2 separate regions of the Homo sapiens genome follow, and region 2 is linked to region 1. The links are contacts of gene promoters, found by promoter capture Hi-C in human tissues and cell types (Jung and others, 2019). All regions are on one chromosome and are shown on one strand. Each heading gives the region's core, a stretch centred on a gene start or on the middle of the fragment in contact. The rest is flanking DNA. Distances are from core to core; before and after follow the strand shown.

Region 1 (2,700 bases), core at 106-2,605:
CTAAGCTCTGATTTCAGCAAATGCATAGAAACACTTTTCAAAGAAGCAGTATACCTAGGCCGGCGCGGTGGCTCACGCCTGTAATACCAGCACTTTGGTAGGCCGAAGCGGGCGGATCACTTGAGGTCAGGAGTTCAAGACCAGCCTGGCCAACATGGCGAAACCCCGTCTCTACTAAAAATACAAAACAGCCGGGCGTCGTGACGGGCGCCTGTAATTCCACCTAGTCGGGAGGCTGAGGCAGGAGAATCGCTTGAACCCGGGAAGTGGAGGTTGCAGTGAGCCAAGATCGCACCGCTGCACTCCAGCCTGGGTGACAGAGTGAGACTCTATCTCAGTTAAAAACAATAATAATAATAATAATAATAATAATTAAAAAGTTTTAAAAAAGAAAAGCAGTATACCAAAGTCATTCCTTTACCCATACATACATTTACTCTTACTTGGACTCAGGAGTAACAAGGAACTCACCTCCTTTAGAAAACGAAGAAAATGAAATACTGAGTTAAGAAGGGGTTAAGGAGAAAGTATTTGTATTTATTGAGAACCAACTACTTTATCCACTTCAGTAAGCTCAACAACATACTCAGAAACGGGATTCACCTCTGAATTAGCAAAACCGACGATCCTAAAAAGCAATTTGGAGGAGTGGCAATGAAGAGGGACGACCTGACGTTCGCTCCCGCCAGTACCAAACCACTCGGGCCCACCGCCTTCCCCTTCCTCAGAGACCTAAACACACTGAGGCCGCGTTCCGGTAGCCGGTGGCATCTCCTGTCAGACGCCGGCCACTCCGCGCTCCTGTCACCTCCGGTGGAGGCGACCCCATCCCGAGGGCACTGCCGCGGGGGCTCGGCTCCGACTGCGGGAGACCCAGGGATGGGGTGGGGAGCCGAGCCTTCTAAATAAAGCTGTTACAGCTGCGGGTCCTGGGGCAGCCCGAAGGCCAGAAGGGGCGACCCTGGGACAGAGGCCGCGACATCCCTCGGGATCCCCACTGAGGCAACCGGGACAGCATTCGACGACTCGGCTCGCGAGACCCTCGGCGTGACGCCGGGTAGGACCGGGTCGACTGGCAATGGGGGAGGCCCTCCACCGCGACTGGACTGGATACCCGGCGGGGGTCCTGGAGAAAGGAAGGGCCGGCCGGCGGGCGCCCCACAGCCGGAAGGGGCGAGCCCGCAAATAGGGCTCACCTTCAGGTCGTTCTCTGGCAGGTACTTGCACAGCCGCGCTATTTCCACATACTTGTCCAGGTCTAGCGGCGCCATTTTAAGAATAACAAGCCGCGGCAACAGCGGCGGCGGCGGCTGTAGCAGCGGCGGCGGCAGCGGCGGAGGCCGAAGCCGGAACTTTCCCTGCGTCACGTCCGGCCCGTGAGTGGCGCCTGCGCAGCGCCGTTAAAGCGCGACCCGTTTCTCCCCGCTACGTCGGTACGCCCGGCGCCCCCTCTGGCTGAACCCCGACTGCAGGCCCCAAGAGAGCCCGCTTCGGTCCACCCCGCGAAACCTGCTGGGACCCGTAGTCGTCTGCCGCGGGGGTGCTGGGATGTGTAGTTTTCTGTTGTGGACAGCCACCCCTCTCTTTTCCTCCCGTTCCTCCAGACTTTCACCTCCCGGCAGCCGGCGAGGCTTTTCCGAGGCAAAACAGCGGAGTAGGTGGTCCTAGCCACTCACTGGTTTGTTTTTCCAACCCTTTTAAGCACTCTCCAGAATATCTTCACTTAACAATTGGGTAAGCCTGGCCGTAGTAACCGTTTGCACCTTTCCAAGTCCCTGTGAAAACCTCGCCTAAGCCTGTGGCAGAGATGTCAGGCCCCAGTCTTCCAGCCTGAAAGGAAGGGAAACGAATATTATTAAAGCATTTCTGATGCTAAATGCGATACAAATGATATTTTTCCTTTTAATCTTCGTAACGATTGATAGGAAAGTGAGGCTAGGAAACTGCAGTTCACCCCAAATCTCACAGGGAACAAAATGGTGGGGTCAAGATTGAAAAATGGCTTAAGCTTAAGCATGCTTCCAGTGAGAATCCCACGAGGGCAGGGAGTTTTTTGCTGTAACTCCAGCACCGAGAACAGTACCTGGTACTAGCATACCTTCAGCGTTCGTTTATCCAACCACTCTTTGCTGAGCAACAAAGATGTGCCAGGTACAGCTCAAGGCGCTTGCAGTACTTCGTGAACAAAATAGACAAAGATCTCTATTCTATCTGTAGCTACAAAAAGTACCAAAATTAGCCTGGCGCGGTAGTGCGTGCTTGTGGTCCCAGCTACTCTGGAGGCTGAGGCAGGAGAACCGCTTGAGTTGGGAGGCGGAGGTTGCAGTGAGCTGAGATCGCGGCACTGCACTCCAGCTTGGGCGACAGAGCGAGATCCTCCTCAAAAATAAATTAGTAAAAGGAGCTGCTGTATGGGACTAGGGGTGGGGGTGCAATGCCTATAGCTAAGAGACCAGTTAAGAGACTGTTATGTAATCCAATAGTAGCAGGCGCTCAATAAATATTTGTTGCTCAAGAGACCCTGGAATTAATCCTCTTGCTCTCTAAAGTATATTTTGTGGACAATTGGCTAACCCTGAATGAGATATCTGGGTGAACTTCTTTGTATTATTCTTGTAACTCCTCTGAAAGTATGAAATTGTTTCAAAGTAAAATTAATTTTTAGAAGTTTGTTGCAGAATGAATGATGCCCACAAGCAT
Region 2 (2,700 bases), core at 117-2,616, 1.6 Mb after region 1:
TGGGAAGAGCCAAATGGAAGACAGCCAGCCTGTCACATGTCCTTCAGAAGTGGCAGGATGGCCAGGCGTGGTGGCTCAGACCTGTAATCCCAGCACTTTGGGAGGCCAAGGTGGGTGGATCACTTGAGGTCAAGAGATTGAGACCAGCCTGGCCAACATGGTGAAACCCTGTCTCTATTAAAAATTAGCCAGGCATGGTGAAGCAGCCTAATTGGGAGACTTGAAGCAGGAGAATCAGTTGAACCTGGGAGGAGGAGGTTGCAGTGAGCTGAGATTGCACCACTACACTCCAGCCTGGACAACAGAGCAAGATGCTGTCTCAAAAAAAAAAAAAATGGCAGGACAAAAAAATACACATAGAGGAGCCAATATCTAAGGACAAATGAGAGTGCATAGCTTTGTGTAGATGTTAAGAATATGCATTCTGGCCGGGCATGGTGACTCACACGTATAATCCCAGCACTTTGGGAGGCCAAGGCAGGCAGATCACGAGGTCAGGAGATTGAGAAATTCCTGGCTAACATAGTGAAACCCCATCTCTACTAAAAATACAAAAAATTAGCTGGGCATGGTGGCACACACCTGTAGTCCCAGCTACTCGGGAGGCTGAGGCAGAAGAATCGCCTGAACCTGGGAGGTGGAGGTTGCAGTGAGCTGAGATCACGCCACTGTACTCCAGCCTGGGCAACAAAGCAAGACTCCGTCTTGAAAAAAAAAAAGAATATGCATCCTTATACAGTTAATGTGCAAATGTCTACTGTTCTCATTTGCATCACCGACTTTACCTCTTGGGAAAGCTTGCCTCCCCTTGACCCCTTCATGCCCCCTCTCACCCCACCACACCATGTTTTTGTGCTGTTTCCTCTTTGGGAAATGGATGGAACTTTCCATCTTCAAACGGAAATAGCATTAGAGGATCCTACCCCTCCGCCCCTCTGTGTGGGGAGGCAGAGGACAGGTGACAGCTCAGACACTGGCCTCCCCTGGACCTGCCCTCATCAACAGCTTGTCCCTTGTTTCTGTTCCCGATGTCAAGCAGTATCTCAGCAAGGCAGAGCATCCCTGCTCCAGGAAGAGGGCTCTCCTACAGCCAGGAGAGAAATTCTGTTCTGGAGGCTGGGCATGGTGGCTCACGCCTGTGAGCACTCCCAATCTCAGCACTTTGGGAGGCCAGGGTGGATGGATCACTTGAGTGCAGGAGTTTGAGACCAGTCTGGGCCACACAGGGAAACCCCGTGTTTGTATTTTTGTTTCTACAAAAGATTAGCTGGGCAGGTGATGGCACACCTAGCTACTAAAGGGGCTGAGGTGGGAGGATCACCTGAGCCCGGGAGGTCAAGGCTACAGTGAGCCATGACTGTGCCATTGCACTCCAGCCTGGGTGAGAGAGTAAGACTCTGTCTCAAAAAACGAAAAAAGAAAAGAAAAGAGAAAAGAAGTTCAGTTCTGGGAGCGGGGAGGGAAGATTTTGGCCCCAGGTTCCAGTTGCATTCTCCAATTTAGATCTACCAGGAATAAAGCTGAAGCCATTGTCTCTATTTGATCTCAATCCCTTATGCCCTGTATTGAGACTCCCTAGCATGACACCCCATCCTGTGTTTGAGGAATTCCCCATTCTCCAAAACTTGGAGAGAGGCGGAAACTACGCCCCACTGTAGAAGCCCAAAGGGCCAGTTTGTTGCTTCCTCAGCCTCCCTTGCAGCCAGGGAGCAGACGCTGGCCAGCCTCAGCCAACCAGAGGACTCTGACTCGGCAGCTAGTGGCACATGAGGGCAGTGGTGGCAGCAAGATCTGCTTCCAAAGTAGCAGGGGCAGCGCAGTGCAGACTGGAGGGGACGGGGGATCCAGTTGGCAGCAGCAACCGCACTGGCAAAAGTGGTGGCCATGGTGGTGGCAGCAGTGTTCTGGCCACCCCAGTTCTGTGGCCTGATTGTGGGTGCGGCTTGGCTGCATAGTCACAGAGCTCGATTTTCCAGCCCTCTTGGGGATCAGATCCTTTTAGTGAATTCTTTTTCTACTGTAATCAGCCAGACTCCATTTCTGTTCTGTGCAGCTTAGAATGTCTACCCAGACATGTGCACACATGTCCCAAAAGCCAGAACCCTGGAAGAAAGAGTGGGTGACTCCTCCAACCACTCCCCCGAGCAACCACCTCACAGCCTGTGTGTCAGTTAAGAGTGTCTTGATTGTAAAGAAACAAAAACAAAAACAAAATTGCAAACTGATGAGCAATGAAGGGAATGTGTTGGTTCACCTGGGTCTGGTGAGGTGAAGCTGGATCCAGATTCTCACCAAGACACTGACTTTTCCCTACCTGTGTTTTATATCTTTCTTGCTGTCAACTTCATTTCCAGCCCCCTCACACAGGCTCTTGCAATTCCAGGCTCTCTCCTTACAGAAATAAAATGGCTGCAATGGTTCCTGACCTCGCATCCTCCCACACCATCCAACAAAAGGGTGTCTCTTCCAGTAGCTCCCCACAACTCCTGGGGTGTCCAGCTGGTCCCACAGCCTGAAGCAGAGCTGCCCAGTTGAGCCCAGCTTAAACCAGCCAGCCCTTAACTGATCTGCAGACACACAAATGAGAATAGGTAATTACTGTTGTAAGCCACTGAGCCTTGCGGTGGATTGTTTTGTAATAACAGCAGGCGGACACAGTCATCGGCGCTGAAACTGGGAGCCTGCCATAATAAAAACTTC

Evidence for each region. The method cuts DNA at HindIII sites, captures the fragments that hold promoters and counts their contacts. A contact is called where the count stands out against the background at its distance.
Region 2: a contact is called between a fragment that was not itself captured here and the fragment with the promoter of PPP6C in region 1, in 1 of the 25 tissues and cell types used here (dorsolateral prefrontal cortex).

Annotation. Positions count from the first base shown.
Region 1 is chr9:125,188,448-125,191,147 of GRCh38, forward strand. PPP6C (protein phosphatase 6 catalytic subunit) reads right to left here and starts at 1,356. Exons shown (of 7, transcript NM_002721.5): 1 at 1,197-1,356. The coding sequence starts at 1,271. RefSeq lists enhancers at 678-1,464, 1,465-2,251, 1,554-1,633. The HindIII fragment of the contact is 9,567 bases long and covers 1-2,700 here.
Region 2 is chr9:126,792,055-126,794,754 of GRCh38, forward strand. No RefSeq gene overlaps it. Among named protein-coding and RNA genes, the nearest start is that of ZBTB43, 12 kb to the right of the region's middle. RefSeq lists an enhancer at 285-454. The HindIII fragment of the contact is 3,083 bases long and covers 1-2,700 here.